4 separate regions of the Homo sapiens genome follow, and regions 2, 3 and 4 are each linked to region 1. Evidence: promoter capture Hi-C in human tissues and cell types (Jung and others, 2019). All regions are on one chromosome and are shown on one strand. Each heading gives the region's core, a stretch centred on a gene start or on the middle of the fragment in contact. The rest is flanking DNA. Distances are from core to core; before and after follow the strand shown. Region 1 holds the start of ZNF14 (zinc finger protein 14). Region 2 holds the start of TSSK6 (testis specific serine kinase 6). Region 3 overlaps ZNF253 (zinc finger protein 253). Region 4 overlaps PBX4 (PBX homeobox 4).

The links. Contacts are between HindIII fragments. The study calls those that stand out against the background at their distance.
Region 2: the fragment with the promoter of TSSK6 here is called in contact with the fragment with the promoter of ZNF14 in region 1 in 1 of the 25 tissues and cell types used here (adrenal gland).
Region 3: a fragment that was not itself captured here is called in contact with the fragment with the promoter of ZNF14 in region 1 in 1 of the 25 tissues and cell types used here (IMR-90 fibroblasts).
Region 4: a contact is called between a fragment that was not itself captured here and the fragment with the promoter of ZNF14 in region 1, in 1 of the 25 tissues and cell types used here (bladder).

Annotation. Positions count from the first base shown.
Region 1 is chr19:19,731,570-19,735,097 of GRCh38, forward strand. ZNF14 (zinc finger protein 14) reads right to left here and starts at 1,543. Exons shown (of 4, transcript NM_021030.3): 1 at 1,387-1,543. The coding sequence starts at 1,389. RefSeq lists a silencer at 1,049-1,198. The HindIII fragment of the contact is 10,257 bases long and covers 1-3,528 here.
Region 2 is chr19:19,513,871-19,517,398 of GRCh38, forward strand. TSSK6 (testis specific serine kinase 6) reads right to left here and starts at 1,678. Exons shown (of 1, transcript NM_032037.4): 1 at 349-1,678. The coding sequence starts at 1,557. The coding sequence ends at 736. NDUFA13 (NADH:ubiquinone oxidoreductase subunit A13) reads left to right here and starts at 2,355. Exons shown (of 5, transcript NM_015965.7): 1 at 2,355-2,462. The coding sequence starts at 2,369. RefSeq lists a silencer at 1,924-2,043 and an enhancer at 2,254-2,533. The HindIII fragment of the contact is 21,153 bases long and covers 1-3,528 here.
Region 3 is chr19:19,882,676-19,886,203 of GRCh38, forward strand. All of the region lies in intron 3 of ZNF253 (zinc finger protein 253), which reads left to right. Among named protein-coding and RNA genes, the nearest start is that of ZNF93, 17 kb to the right of the region's middle. The HindIII fragment of the contact is 7,378 bases long and covers 1-3,528 here.
Region 4 is chr19:19,591,562-19,595,089 of GRCh38, forward strand. All of the region lies in intron 2 of PBX4 (PBX homeobox 4), which reads right to left. Among named protein-coding and RNA genes, the nearest start is that of PBX4, 25 kb to the right of the region's middle. RefSeq lists an enhancer at 1,055-1,679. The HindIII fragment of the contact is 8,394 bases long and covers 1-3,528 here.

The sequences.
Region 1 (3,528 bases), core at 293-2,792:
CATCTCAAAAAAAAGAAAAAAAACAACAACAAAACTACCCACAATGACTCTAGACTTAGGAACCTTCCACTGGTTAATTGCTCAGAGAAAAACACACTGACCTATTACAACCACACGAGGAAAGAAAAAATCACAACATACACTTACAATCAGAATGTATCAAAGTGGTGTGTGTCATAAACATCACTCTCACAAACACCTCAAAGCTTACCACTTAGCCGGGCGCGGTGGCTCACGCCTGTAATCCCAGCACTTTGGGAGGCCAAGGCGGGCAGATCACAAGGTCAGGAGATCGAGACCATCCTGGCTAACACGGTGAAACCCCGTCTCTACTAAAAATACAAAAAAATTAGCTGGGCGTGGTGGCGGGCGCCTGTAGTCCCAGCTACTGGGAAGGCTGAGGCAGAATGGCTTGAACCTGGGAGGCGGAGCTTGCAGTGAGCTGGAGATCGCGCCACTGCACTCCATCCCGGGCGACAGAGCGAGACTCCGTCACACACAAAAAAAAATGCTTACCACTTATATACGGAACAAATGACATACAGAGATTTTGCATCATCATGGCACTCCAACATAGGCGAAATCTCTTGGGTAGAAACCACACAGATAAACACACACAAACAAGAAAATTTAAAAGAACCTGAACAAGCTCACAATTAATTCCATCCAGAAACCAAAGAAACTAAAAATCGCACACATTCACGCAAGGGAACAAAATTACCCAGAGCGAAGGGAAACTGGAATTAAGGGTGGCTAGAATTAATATTTGATCAAGGAGTCCAAAGGGAAGAAACACAAACTTTCTGATCAGTTAAGATAAGGAGTCCCCTTCCCCGCAGTTCGAAAAGAAAGCCCACATTCAGAAGGTCAAAAACACCCCCAGACTTGAGTGCTGGGAGCACTAGAGGGGGTCAGTCCCTGGTGATGAGGGCAGGGGCGTTTGAACAGCCACAGGAACCTGACCCCGGCAGCAAGGACCTAGCCAGGCTTCGGTTCTCACAAGTGAGGAAACGCACCCGTGGATTCATCGTAAGGTTTCCAACCAAGTGGTTTCTTAAACGCACAAACCCCACAGACCGAGATGGGATCTCCCCAGGACCCTCCCGCTGTCACCGAACAATCCGGGGAGACGCGGGGCTGCGGGCGCAGAGCTGCCCATAGAGGGCTCCAGGACCGGGGGCCGAGGTCGCCCCGCGGGGACGGGACAGGACGCTGGGGCTCCCGGCTGCGGGTCCAGCTCCCACAGAGAGGACCGAGGGCCGAACTGCGCCCGCGGTGGCCCCCGGGTCTGCAAACCCCGGAGTTGACTGCAAGGAGGTCCCCGGCCTCGGCCACAGACGGTTCCAACCAGAAACCTCCCCTCGGACACTGGCCCCGCACACTCACCATTTCCCAGCGTCCGGGAAGTCACGGTGTCCTCCCTACGGATCTGTCAGTACCTGCAGGTCACGGCGCGACAAAGGATGCGCTAGAGCCACCTTCGGCCTTCAGGAGCAGGTGAAACGCAATCTTCCCATGGGCCAGGAATGGCGACGTCCGCACTGCGCAGGCCCAGCGTGGCGCCGCTCACATCTTTTCAGCTGAGGTCCTGATTGGACAGATCCAATGGCCCCGCCTCTTTATCACTGAGTGACAGCGGAGCAGGAAGGGGCGTGGTTGAGCTGGCCTGGCTTCAGTCCGGCTTGTCCCCGCCAGGACGTTTGCGTTTAAACCGAATGTGTTCTTTGCCTCCCATCCATTTTAAGTGTTCTCTTCAGTACTGTTAAATACATTCACATTGTGAAGCCAATTTCCAGAATTGTTTTCATCTTGCAACACTGAAATCTGTCTCGTTGCACAACTCCCCGTGCACCTCCTTCCCTCAGGGTCTTTTGCAACCTCCATTCCATTGTCTGAGTTCGTGAATTTGACTGTGGGAATCTCATGTAAATGGCGTCATAAAGTATTTGTCCTTTCCTGACGTGCTTATTTCACTTAGCATAATGTCCTCGAGCTTCACCTTGTAGTATGTGTTAGGATTTATTTCTTCTTTTTTTTTTTTTTTTTGAGACGGAGTCTCGCTCTGTCGCCCAGGCTGGAGTGCAGTGGCGCATCTCGGCTCACTGCAAGCTCCGCCTCCCGGGTTCACGCCATTCTCCTGCCTCAGCCTCACGAGTAGCTGGGAATACAGGCGCCCGCCACCACGCCCGGCTAATTTTTTGTATTTTTTTAGTAGAGACGGGGTTTCACTGTGTTAGTCAGGATGGTCTCGATCTCCTGACCTCGTGATCTGCCGGCCTCGGCCTCCCAAAGCGTTGGGATTACAGGCGTGAGCCACCACGCCCGGCCTCTTCTTCTTTTTTTTTTTTTTAAGAGACAGGGTTTTGCTCTGTAGCCCAGGCTGAAGTGCAGTGGTGTGATCATTGCTCACTGCAGGCTTCAACTCCTGGATTCAAGCAAGCCTCCAACCTGAGCCTCCTAAGTATCTGGGACTACACGCACGCACTACCAGGCCTGGCTAATTGTTTTAATTTTAATTTTAATTTTTGGTAGAGATGTGTGTCTCCTTCTGTTGCCCAGGCTGGTCTCGAACTCCTAGGTTCAAGCAATCCTCCTGCCTCGACCTCTCAAAGTGCTGGGATTACAGGTGTGAGCCACTGCCACCGGCCAATTTACTTCTTTTTTTTTCCTTTGGAGATGGAGTCTCGCTCTCGTTGCCCAGGCTGGAGTGCAGTGGCGCTCAGCCACCGCAACCTCTGCCTCCCAGGTTCAAGTGATTCTCCTGACTCAGCTTCCTGAGTAGCCAGGATTACAGGCGCCCACCACTACTCCCGGCTGATTTTTGTATTGTAGTAGAGATAGAGTTTCACCATGTTGGCCAGGCTGGTCTCGAACGCCTGACCTCAGGTGATCTGCCCTCTTTGGCCTCCCAAAGTGCTGGGGGTGTGAGCCACCTCGCCTGTCCCCAATTTACTTCTTTTTAATGCTTTATTTAAACATTTTTTAAAGAGTTCCTAAATTAGTCAGTTCCTAAATCTACATACAATAGAATAGAATTGTATTCTATTGTATGTAGATATCAAATTTCTGGATTTTTCTGGATCTATTTATCTTTCTTTCTTTTTTTTTTTTTGAGACAGTCTTGCTCTGTTGCTCAGACTGGAGTGCAATGGCGTGATCTCGGCTCACTGCACTCCACCTCCTGGGCTCAAGCAATCCTTGTGCCTCAGCCTCCTGAGTAGCTGGGGTTACAGGCATGTGCCACTATGCCCAGCTAATTTTTGTAATTTTAGCAGAGATGGGGTTTCGCCATGTTGCCCAGGCTGGTCTCAAACTCCTGGGGTCAAGAGATCTGCCCACCTTGGCCTCCCAAAGTGCTGGGATTACCGCATGAGCCACCTCGCCCGGCCTTATTTATCCTTTCCTGGACACCTAGGTTGCTTCTGCCTTTGGCTATGGTAAATAATATGTCTATGAACATGGGTGAACAAATATGTGGGTTGCTGCTTTCAGTTTTTTAGGGTATGCTCAGAAGCAGACTTCCTGGAT
Region 2 (3,528 bases), core at 428-2,927, 220 kb before region 1:
AGTTTCCTTATCTATAAACTCCTACTTTACGTGGAGACAGGCCACCCTCGCCCCACCCCTGGCTGTTCCATTCTTAAAAGATGTGGACGGCGAGGCGCTGGGGTCCACTTGCTTCCCAGCCCATCATCACAGCGACATCACGACCCGGGGACAACAAAGCTCCTTTGAGTTTGCCCATACTGGGGAGCTCAAAAGGTCCAGGCTCGAATCCTCCCGACTCCCTTTTGAGTCTTGGAGCAATAACCTCAACATGCGTGACTCTAAAATAGGGTACCCGCGCCTGCCTTCCCCGGATGGAGCGATCGCTTCTCCACTAGTCCGCAAATGGGGGCCACCGTTAGAGCCAGGTGCGAGGAACAGCGAGTTTATTGCAGGTTCCAACCGGGAACCTGGCACCCACGGCTGGTTGGGAAGGGACGCCCTCCGCGCAGAGGCTGAGAGTTCCGCGCAGGCGCAATGCTTCCGTCCCCTCTGGTCTCGCCCTCTCGGGGCCTGGTCGCAGGGAATCGCGGATGCGCATGCGCCTCCAGCTCCCGGGATCGCGGGGAACGTGGATTCCGAACAAGGGCAACTGCGGACTCCCCCGTGGGAAGAAAGGGAGGGAAGCGGAAGGGAAAAAGCGCATGTGCAGCAGCACGCGGCAGCTTCGCATATTCCCTCGAAGCGCGCCTCTTGCGCGTGCGCCGCCCTGGCCCAGTGCCCTTGGCTGCAGGAATGGCTGGAACCACCCGGCTTCTAGCCGGAGTCCCCGGCGCGCAGCCAGCAGTTGCGCGCTACCTGGCCCGCGGAGGGCCTGGCGGACGGGCTGAACTGCAGCAGCTCGGCGATCAGGGCCTTGCAGCGCTCGGACAGCTCGAGGCCTTCGGGATAGAGCACGCCGCGTTTCTGGCGCCGGGGCAGGCCGGCGATGTCCGAGTCGTCGAAGGGCATGCACCCGGTGACCATGACGTAGAGCACGACGCCCATGCTCCACACATCGTACTTCTTGGGGTCGTAGGGGATGCCCAGGAGCACCTCGGGTGACGCGTAGGCGGCTGAGCCGCAGTAGGTGGTGCTCAGGTCTGGGTAGCCATGGGCCTGGCGGCCGAAGCCGAAGTCGGTGAGCTTGACGCGGCGCTCGTCCGGGCTCAGCAGCACGTTTTCGCACTTGAGGTCGCGGTGCACCAGGTGATGATCGTGCAGGTAGCGCACGGCGCCGGCGATCTGCGCAAAGAGGTCGCGCGCCTGAACTCCGGGGATGCGCCCGTTGCGCTGCACGGCTTGCAGCAGGTCGGTGGCGGCCGCTTCCATCACGATGTACAGTTTCCCGTTGCACACCTCGATGAACTCGAAGACGTGCACGATGTGCGGGTGTCGCACGCCCCGCAGGATGGACAGCTCTCGCGGCAGGAACTTGTTGACGAAGTCCGGGGGCGCTCGCCGCCGGTCCACCACCTTGATGGCCACGGTACCCTTGTACTTCTTGGATGTGGCCACCTTCACCTTGGAGTAGCTGCCCTCTCCAATTGTGCGGCCCAGCTTATAACCGAGTTCGCTCAGAAGTTTGTCTCCCGACATGGTGGCGCCTAGGGCGCACGGGGGGCAGGAGGCGGCTGCTGTCGGGGGGCGGCCGGACTCCAATCTCGGGTCTAAGCCATGGCGCTTGGCACCTACACCCCCGCACCCCCATGTGCCCACTGCCAGACATTGGCCGCTGTTGTGCCTTTTATTGCCCCGTAACAATTTTTGCCTTGTGAAGTGACTGCGGGCGTCACTCCGCCTTAGGGTGGGGGTCCGGGACCCCGCCCCGGGGCCACCCTAGCCTCCCTGCTTTGTGACTCATAATCATCCTGAATGGTCAGTTTCCGATGAGAGGCCACTAGCAAGGGATACCCATCACCACCAGGGAGCAGAATCCGTTCCAGGGATTGGGGTGAGTCCGACTTCGAGCAGCAGCTGCCCCCCAACATCATGTACCCAGCCCGTGACTACGTGGAGCCCTGGGCTTCGCGTAGAGTCCCTAGACGGGGCGAAAACGGGAAAAGGGGCCTTAACTGGGGCACCTGGCTCCTTTGAGAGCTCGGAGTTTCTGACTGGCCTGCGCAACACCCCAGAGGCAAGGTGAACGCGAGGGCCTATAATGCAAGAACCAAGGCGAGTCACGCCCTGTCTGGGCAAAAGAGGAGTAAAGACCCCTCAGCTGCAGCCCGGCAGCGCATTCCTACCCAGGGTCCGCCGCCAGAGCTTTCCCGCGCGGTCGGATAGTTACACTACTGTCCGGGACTTCCTAGCCGTGCCGCGGACCATCTCAAGTGCTTCCGCCACACTCATCATGGCGGTGGCAGTAAGTCACTTCCGCCCGGGACCGGAAGTGTGGGATACTGCGAGTATGGCGGCGTCAAAGGTGAAGCAGGACATGCCTCCGCCGGGGGGCTATGGGCCCATCGACTACAAACGGAACTTGCCGCGTCGAGGACTGTCGGGTCAGTATCACTCTGCGCCGGGGTCTCAGAGTCTGGGCACTCGGGGCTCGGGGGCGGGGTTCCGGGGACACAGGCGGGCCTCAGTTTTCCCGGCGGTGTGACCGGAGGCGGAGCCCGGGGATCCATCATAGCTTCTGTAATAACGCTAAGTGCTGCAGTTTGTTGAGGTCTTTCCCAGCTCCTCTTCCTTCTCGTAACAGCCCAGGAAATCGGTCCCTCTAGTTATTTACGTTTTACAGTGGGTTAAACTGAGTCATAGCCTGTGCTCTGGCCCTCAGCCACCCTTGGATTTCTAAGATGGGGAAACTGAGGCCCAAAGAAGGCCGCGGCTCCCCAAGGCAAAGCTGAGGCCGCAACCCGGAACCTGGAGGGAATTTACAAGATGTTCTATGCAGTGGTTCCCTGCTGGCAGCCCCCGCCTGCATGGTGTCACAGGAATCCATATTCTTTAAATTTTCAATTTTTTTTTTTTGAGACGGAGTTTTGCTCTTGTTGCCCAGGCTGGAGTGCAATGGCGCCATCTCGGCTCACCGCAACCTCCGCCTCCTGGGTTCAAGCGATTCTCTTGCCTCAGCCTCCTGAGTAGCTGGGATTACAGGCATGTGCCACAACGCCTGGCTAACTTTGTGTTTTTAGTAGAGACGGGGTTTCTCCATGTTGGTCAGGGTGGTCTCGAACTCCCAACCTCGGATGATCCGCCCACCTCGGCCTCCCAAAGTGCTGGGATTACAGGCGTGAGCCACCATGCCCGGCGTAAAGTTTTCAAATGTTTAAGTAACACGTTAAATTTTGTTATCGGGCTCAGCACAGAAAATTGAAAAAGAGAACTTAAAAGGCGCCCATACTCAGTCCCCAGGTTAACAGACAAATAGAAACTTTTAAACGTAATCTAAGAGTGAATACATACATTTCTTTTTTTTTTTTTAAGACGGTATGGTTCTGTTGCCTGGGCTGGAGTGATTTCTTGGCAACCTCCGCCTCCTGGGCTCAAGCCATCCTCCCACCCCAGCCTCCTGAGAAGCTGGGATTACAAGCATGCGCCCAGCTTTCTGTATTTTCTATAGAG
Region 3 (3,528 bases), core at 593-3,092, 150 kb after region 1:
AATTAAGAGATAAATTGCTGGATGCGGTGGCTCACGCCTGTAATCCCAACACTTTGGGAGGCTGAGGTGGGTGGATCAAGAGGTCAGGAGTTGAGACCAGCCTGGCCAACATAGTGAAACCCTGTTTCCACTAAAAATACAAAAAATTAGCTGGGCATGGTGGCGGGCACCTGTAATCCCAGCTACTTGGGAGGCTGAGGTAGGAAAATTGCTTGAACCTGGGAAGCAGAGGTTGCAATGAGCCGAGATTGCACCATTGCACTCCAGCCCAGGCAACAGTGCGAGACTCCGTCTCAAAAAAAAAAAAAAAGATAAATTATGCATGTTTATTACAATCAGATTACATATGTATGTGTGTTTATCTATAAATATGACCCCAATTTTAGTTATGGCTTATCTTATATTCTTTCTTAGCTGATTTTCCATGGTAGTTTTATCTTAAGTGAGCAGTCATTGAGATAGTTTTATTTTTTCCATGTGTTTAATGATGAATATATATTTCCTTTTGTGAGAAAAGCACTTTTGTGATTTGAAGGTAATTTTCAAAAGGATTTATAATTCTGTATTTTTTTCTGTTTTTCTTTAAAACTTGTTTTAAAAACACATAACATAAAATTTAATGTCTTAAATCTATTGAAGTGTACATTTCAGGGCCAAGTGTGGTTGTGGCTCTCATCTGTAATCCCAGGATTTTGCGAGGCCAAGGCAGGAGGATCCCTGGAGCCTAAAAGTTTGAGAGCCGCCTGGGGAATATATGGAGACCTCTCTCTATAAAAAAAATTTAATAATAGCCAAGCATGGTGGTGTGCACCTGTGGTCCCAGCTACTTGGGAGATTGAGAGGGATTCAAAATTGTGCCACTACATTGCAGGTTGGGGGACAGAGTGAGACCCTGTCTCAAAAAAAAGTTGTTCATTTCAGGCATGTTAAGTATATTCACACTGTTATGCAAAAGACTTCTAGAAACTTTACATCTTATAAAGCTAAAACTTAATTCCCATTAAGTAACAACTGCTCATTTTACCCTCTCTCCAGCCCTGACAGACAAACCTTCAACTTTCTGTTTTATGATTTTTGACTACTTATGATACCTCATATAGCTGGGTGTGGTGGCTTACACCTGTAATCCCATCACTTTGGGAGGCTGAGGCAGGCAGATCACCTGAGATCGGGAGTTTGAGACCAGCCTGACCAACATGGAAAAACCCTGTCTGTACTAAAATACAAAAAAATTAGCCAGGCATGGTGGCGCATGCCTATAATCCCAGCTCCTCGGGAGGCTGAGATAGGAAAATCGCTTGAACCTGGGAGGTGGAGGTTGCAGTGAGCCAAGATCGGGCCATTGCACTCCAGCCTGGTCAACAAGAGTGAAACTCCATCTCAAAAAAAAAAAAAAAAAAGATACCTCATATAAGTGGAATCATATAGTATCCATAATTTTGTTACTGGTTTAATTCAGGTGACATAATATTCTCAATCTTCATCTTAAAATGTGACAAGATGGTTATTTTTAAGGTGGAATAATATTCCATCATATGTATATGTTACATTTTTTGATATGTTTATAAATCAAGGGACATCTGGGTTGCTTCAGCCTTTTGACTTTTGTGAATACTGGTACAATAAACATATATTTTCAAATATGTCTTCCAGGTCCTGTGTTACATATTTTGTTTCTTTTGTTGTTTGTTATTTTTATTTTTATTTTTTTTTTGAGATCGAGTCTCCCGCTGTCACCCAGGCTGGAGTGTAGTCGTGTGATCTCAGCTCACTGCAACCTCTGCCTTTGGGGTTCAAGCGATTCTCCTACCTCAGCCTCCCAAGTTCCTGGGATTACAGGTGCACGTAACATCACCCATCTAGTTTTTGTATTTTTAGTAGACATGGTGTTTCACCATGGTGGCCAGGCTGGTTTTGAACTTCTGACCTCAGGTGATCTGCCCACCTTGGCCTCCCAGTGTGCTATGATTACAGGCTTGAGCCACTACACTTCGCCTGTGTTATGTATTTTAGATATAGATTTATAAATAAGGAACATTTCTAACATTTTAAAATAATGGCTGCATCATTATTTTCCACCAGCAGTCAACATGGGTTTCATTTTTATTGCATCATCAACAGATTTGGTGTATCAAAAAAAAATTATAGTGGCCATTCTAATGGGTATGAGGTGATTTTGTTTGTTATGTTTCTTTTTTCATTTCTCTACAAATTAGTAATTTTGTGTGTGCTTTCAAATGCATTTTCCAATTTTGTGTATTTTTTTGAGAAAAATTTGTCCATTTCTAAATCAAGTTATTCAAATTTACTGTTAGTTTTAAGAGTCATTTATATATTTTGAATATTAACTCTTTTAACAAGTAATATGTAAATGTTTTCAACTATTTTCTAAGGGACGTTGTCACTCCTGAAATTTTTTTCTTTCAGAAATTTTGAAGTATAGTGTAGTTAAACTTTTTTGTTCTTTTATTTGTTGCTCATACATTTAATGTCGTACCTAAAAAAATGGTGCCAAGACCAATGTCATGTCTTTTTTTTGTATTCTTTCTTTCTTTCTTTCTTTCTTTCTTTCTTTCTTTCTTTCTTTCTTTCTTTCTTTCTTTCTTTCTTTCTTTCTCTTTCTTTTCTTTCTTTCTTTCTTTCTTTCTTTCTTTCTTTCTTTCTTTCTTTCTTTCTTTCTTCCTTTCTTTTCTTTCTTTTCTTTCTTTTCTTTCTTTTCTTTCTTTCTTTTCTTAGATGGAGTCTTGCTCTGTCCCCCAGGCTGGAGTTCAGTAGCGCAATCTCAGCTCACTGCAAGCTCTGCCTTCTGGGTTCACGCCATTCTCCTGCCTCAGCCTCCCAAGTAGCTGGGACTATGGGCGCCCGCCACCATGCCCGGCTAAGTTTTTTGTATTTTTAATAGAGACGGGGTTTCACCATGTTAGCCAGGATGGTCTCGATCTCCTGACCTCATGATCCGTCCGCCTCGGCCTCCCAAAGTGCTGGGATTACAGGCATCAGCCACCGTGCCCGGCTTGTTTTGTATTTTTTCTAAAATATTTGTTAGTTTATTTTGTCTAAGTATTTTATTTAAAATGTATTTTTGTATCATTCAAGGAAATAATCCAACTTTATTTTATCAGTGTTGATACTGTAGCTTTTAACTGTTGTATTGACATCTTTGAACAATGAAATTTTTTGACCCCTGAGCAAGAATGTTGAAGTGTGTTTTATATTCACATGCTTTTGAATTTGCCATTTGACTTTTGCTTTTAATTCCTAATTTCATTCAGTTTTTGTTAGAAAACACACAGTGTATAATTTTAGTCTTTTAAAATTGTTTTGTTGTTGTTGTTTTGAGACAAGATCTTACCGTCATCCAGGCTGGAGTGCAGTAGCATAATTTTGGCTCACTGTAGCCTCAGTCTCCTGGGCTCAAGTGATTCTTTCACATCAGTTTCCTGAGTAGCTAGGATTACAGACATGCACTACCATGTCTGGCTAATTGTGTGCTTGTTTGTAGTGTTAGGATGTCAATGTGTTGCCCAG
Region 4 (3,528 bases), core at 744-3,243, 140 kb before region 1:
CAGTCACAGGGTGGAGAAGGCAAAGCAGGCCCCTTCTCAAGAACGGCCCAGGATGGGATGGCCGAGTGGGTCTGCAAGGGGCCTCTGGGGCTCAGCACACCGCCTCGGAGCTGCCTACCCACTCGAGATCTGAGATCCGAAGCTTTTCACACAAGCTGTCACTCATGCTCATGTGGAGGTAAAGCCTGACACATTCCAACGTGCCAGGCTGTCCCTGCTCTGGTGCCAAACACCACTGTGTGAATTCAGGCCACGCCTCAGTCCTCACTGGGAACATCAATGTGACAAACCTTATTTTTTATTTTTATATTTTTTTAGAGGCAGAGTCTCACTTTGTCGCCCAAGCTGGGGTGCAGTGGTGTGATCTCAGCTCACTGCAAACCTCACATCCCAGGTTCAAGTGATTCTTCTGCCTCAGCCTCCCGTGTAGCTAGGATTATAGGCACCCGCCACCATGCCCAGCTAGTTTTTGTATTTTTAGTAGAGATGGGTGGGTGAGGGAGGTGGGGGGGTGGTTCACCATATTGGCCAGGCTGGTCTCGAACTCCTGACCTCAGGTGATCCGTCTGCCTCAGCCTCCCAAAGTGCTGGGATTATAGGCGTGAGCCACTGTACCTGGCCAACGTGACACATCTTAAATCCAACGCTTTCGAATTCTGCAACATACCTAGTCCCAGGGTCTCAGCAAAGGGACTGTGGCCCGTATCTGGTTCTCCCAGCTAAATTCAAAGCTCTGCAACTAATCAGGGTTTATTTTGTTCTCAGAACAGCTCCTCTAGACACCGAGGAGGACAGCTGTTTCTGGGAAGGAGGGTTTGGGAGGAAATGCATACGCTGAGGGTGTCCTTGGCCTTCAGAGACCACCGCAGGGCAGGAACACCCAGACACTGTGGTGTGGTGAAGCTGACCCCAGGAGACAAGCTTTGAGGGACCTGCCTGCATACCTCCGACAGGCCATTCCTGGGGTTCACCAGGGACTGCTGGCAGTGCATCCGGTGATGCCAGGTTTACATGGAGGACCACGTTCTTTTCAGGCTGCTGTGAGTGATAAGCCCTGTGTTCTAAGTCAGGCCCCCAGACACTGAATCTTCTGAACCTCATAAGGGGAACTGGATGAAAGGGATTTCAGTTAGTATGTATCAGTCACCAGAAACAGTTTTTCAATCAACAAAAACAGAAAGGCACCGGGACAGACCCTGAGAACATAGCGCATCCTAGACCCTGCGCTGGCCAGGAATGGTCATTGTTCAGATGACACAGGTGGGTGTGTGGGGCCCATGAGTGCCGGCCATGAGGGACAGGCCCTGGGTCCCTTTCATGAGTGAGGACAGTGTACGGGGTGGGGCGGCATGCAGCCTGGCTGTGGGTGACTGGTGTGCCCTGGGGAGGCCCCTGTCTCTTAGAGCTTCCCACTGCCCATCTGTAAAACGGGAGAAAAGGGTCTGCCCGAGGCTGTGCAGGGCTCTGGGGAACAACTCGAGGAAGCCCCGAGCTGCCTGCCCAGGCTCCATCAATACCCACCAGACTTAATCTTTGCCGTTGTTGTTGTTGTAGAGACAGGGTCTTACTGTGTTGCCCAGGTTGGTCTCATACTCTTGGGCTCAAGCGATTCCAAAGTACTGGGATTATAAGTGTGAGCCACCATGTCCTGCCCCACCAGGCTTTAAATGCTCTGTGGAAGTTTGGTCTTTACCATAAGGCCTGCTGCAGACTTCAGCCAGAGGGAAATGTGAGAACTGTGGGTTAAATCGAGAAGCACGCCAGGACCCCGGCTCATGGGATTGCCCTTCAAGAGGCGGCCCGTGGGTACCACAGGGTGCAGGATCAGGACCATGAACAGTTTCCTCTGGGCTGAGACTTGGCCATTCCTAGTCACGGGATGAGGACAGATGGAGCAGAATCGAAATCCTGTTTACTTTCCTGCCACTGGCTGGTTTGTCTCCGAGACTAGAAGGCTGAGGTGTTCCTGACATCAAGGCAGGTGGCCCACAGGTGGGACCCACAGCACTCACTGACTGCACTTCCTGATATAAAAAGATACCTGGACACTCCAGGTGACACTCAGGAACAGGCATCCCTCAGCTCCAGGCTTGTGCATTTCAGGGAGGAGCAGTTGCTGTCTCATCCCTGTCCTACTGTACCCCAAAACATACCCTGTACCCAGATGTTTGAGCCAGTCAGTGGGAAGAAAGCATTAGCTTCCAAGGAAATGCCCAGGTGGCCGGTGCTCTGAGCCCTGCAGCGGCCTTGGGACTCAGCTTGGAGGAATCAAAAGTCCTGAGTGGCCAGGCACAGTGGCGCCTGCCTGTAACCCCACACCTTGGGAGGCTGAGGCAGGAGGATCACTTGAGCTCAGGAGTTCAAGGCCAACCTGGGCAACATACTAAGACCTCATCCCCCCAAAAATAGTCCTCAGCGACCCCTAGACATGGTGGTGTGTGCGGAAGCTGAGGTGTGAGGATCACTTGAGCCCAGGAGTTTGAAGCCAATCTGGGCAACACAGTGAGACTCTGTGTCTTAATTAAAAAAAAAAAAAAATAAAAAATAAAAAATTAAAAATGTCGCCGGGCATGGTGGCACATGGCTGTAATCCCAGCACTTTGGGAGGCCGAGGCGGGCGGATCACCTGAGGTCAAGAGTTCAAGACCAGCCTGACCAACAGGGTGAAACCCTGTCTCTACTAAATACAAAAAATTAGCCGGGTGTGGTGGCAGATGCCTGTAATCCCAACTACTCGGGAGGCTGAGGCAGGAAAATTGCTTGAACCTGGGAGGCAGTGAGCCGAGATTGCGCCATTGCACTCCAGCCTAGGCAACAAGAGTGAAACTCTGTCTAAAAAAAAAAAAAAAAGAGTCCTGAGCATGGCCCTCAAAGCCTAGGCAGATGGGGGTAGGGAGGTGGGGCGACACCAGCGGTTGAAATGGACAGACATCTCAGCTGCACTGGCAACAGTTGGTATCAACTCTTGTTTTCCCTCCTGAAACTGCTGAATTTGAGACTAACAGACTCATGCAGTAACATCCACACAGGGGCAGATGGAATTATGAAGAGGCGTGCCCAGGCTGAACACCCACACTCTCAAAAATTGGTTTCTCGTTCAGCCCCAGCAGCTCACTGGTAGGAAGGTCAAGAATGACAGCTTCCTGAGACTACAGTTGATTAAAGTACTTTTTTTTTTTAGACAGGGTCTCACTCTGTCACCCAGGCTGGAGTGCAGTGGCGCAATGTCATCTCACTGCAACCTCTGCCTCCTGGGTTCAAGTGATACTCCTGCCTCAGCCTCCTGAGTAACTGGGATTACAGGCGCATGCCACCACGCCCAGCTAATTTTTGTATTTTTAGTAGAGACGGGGTTTCATCATGTTGGTCAGGCTGGTCTCGAACTCCTGATCTCAGGTGGTCCAACTGCCTCGGCCTCCCAAAGTGCTGGGATTACAGGCGTGAGCCACCGCACCCAGCCTTTAAAAAGTACTTTTTAAAATAGTTTTTTATTATTACTAAATTCCAGATGTTGCATTGCTAAACATC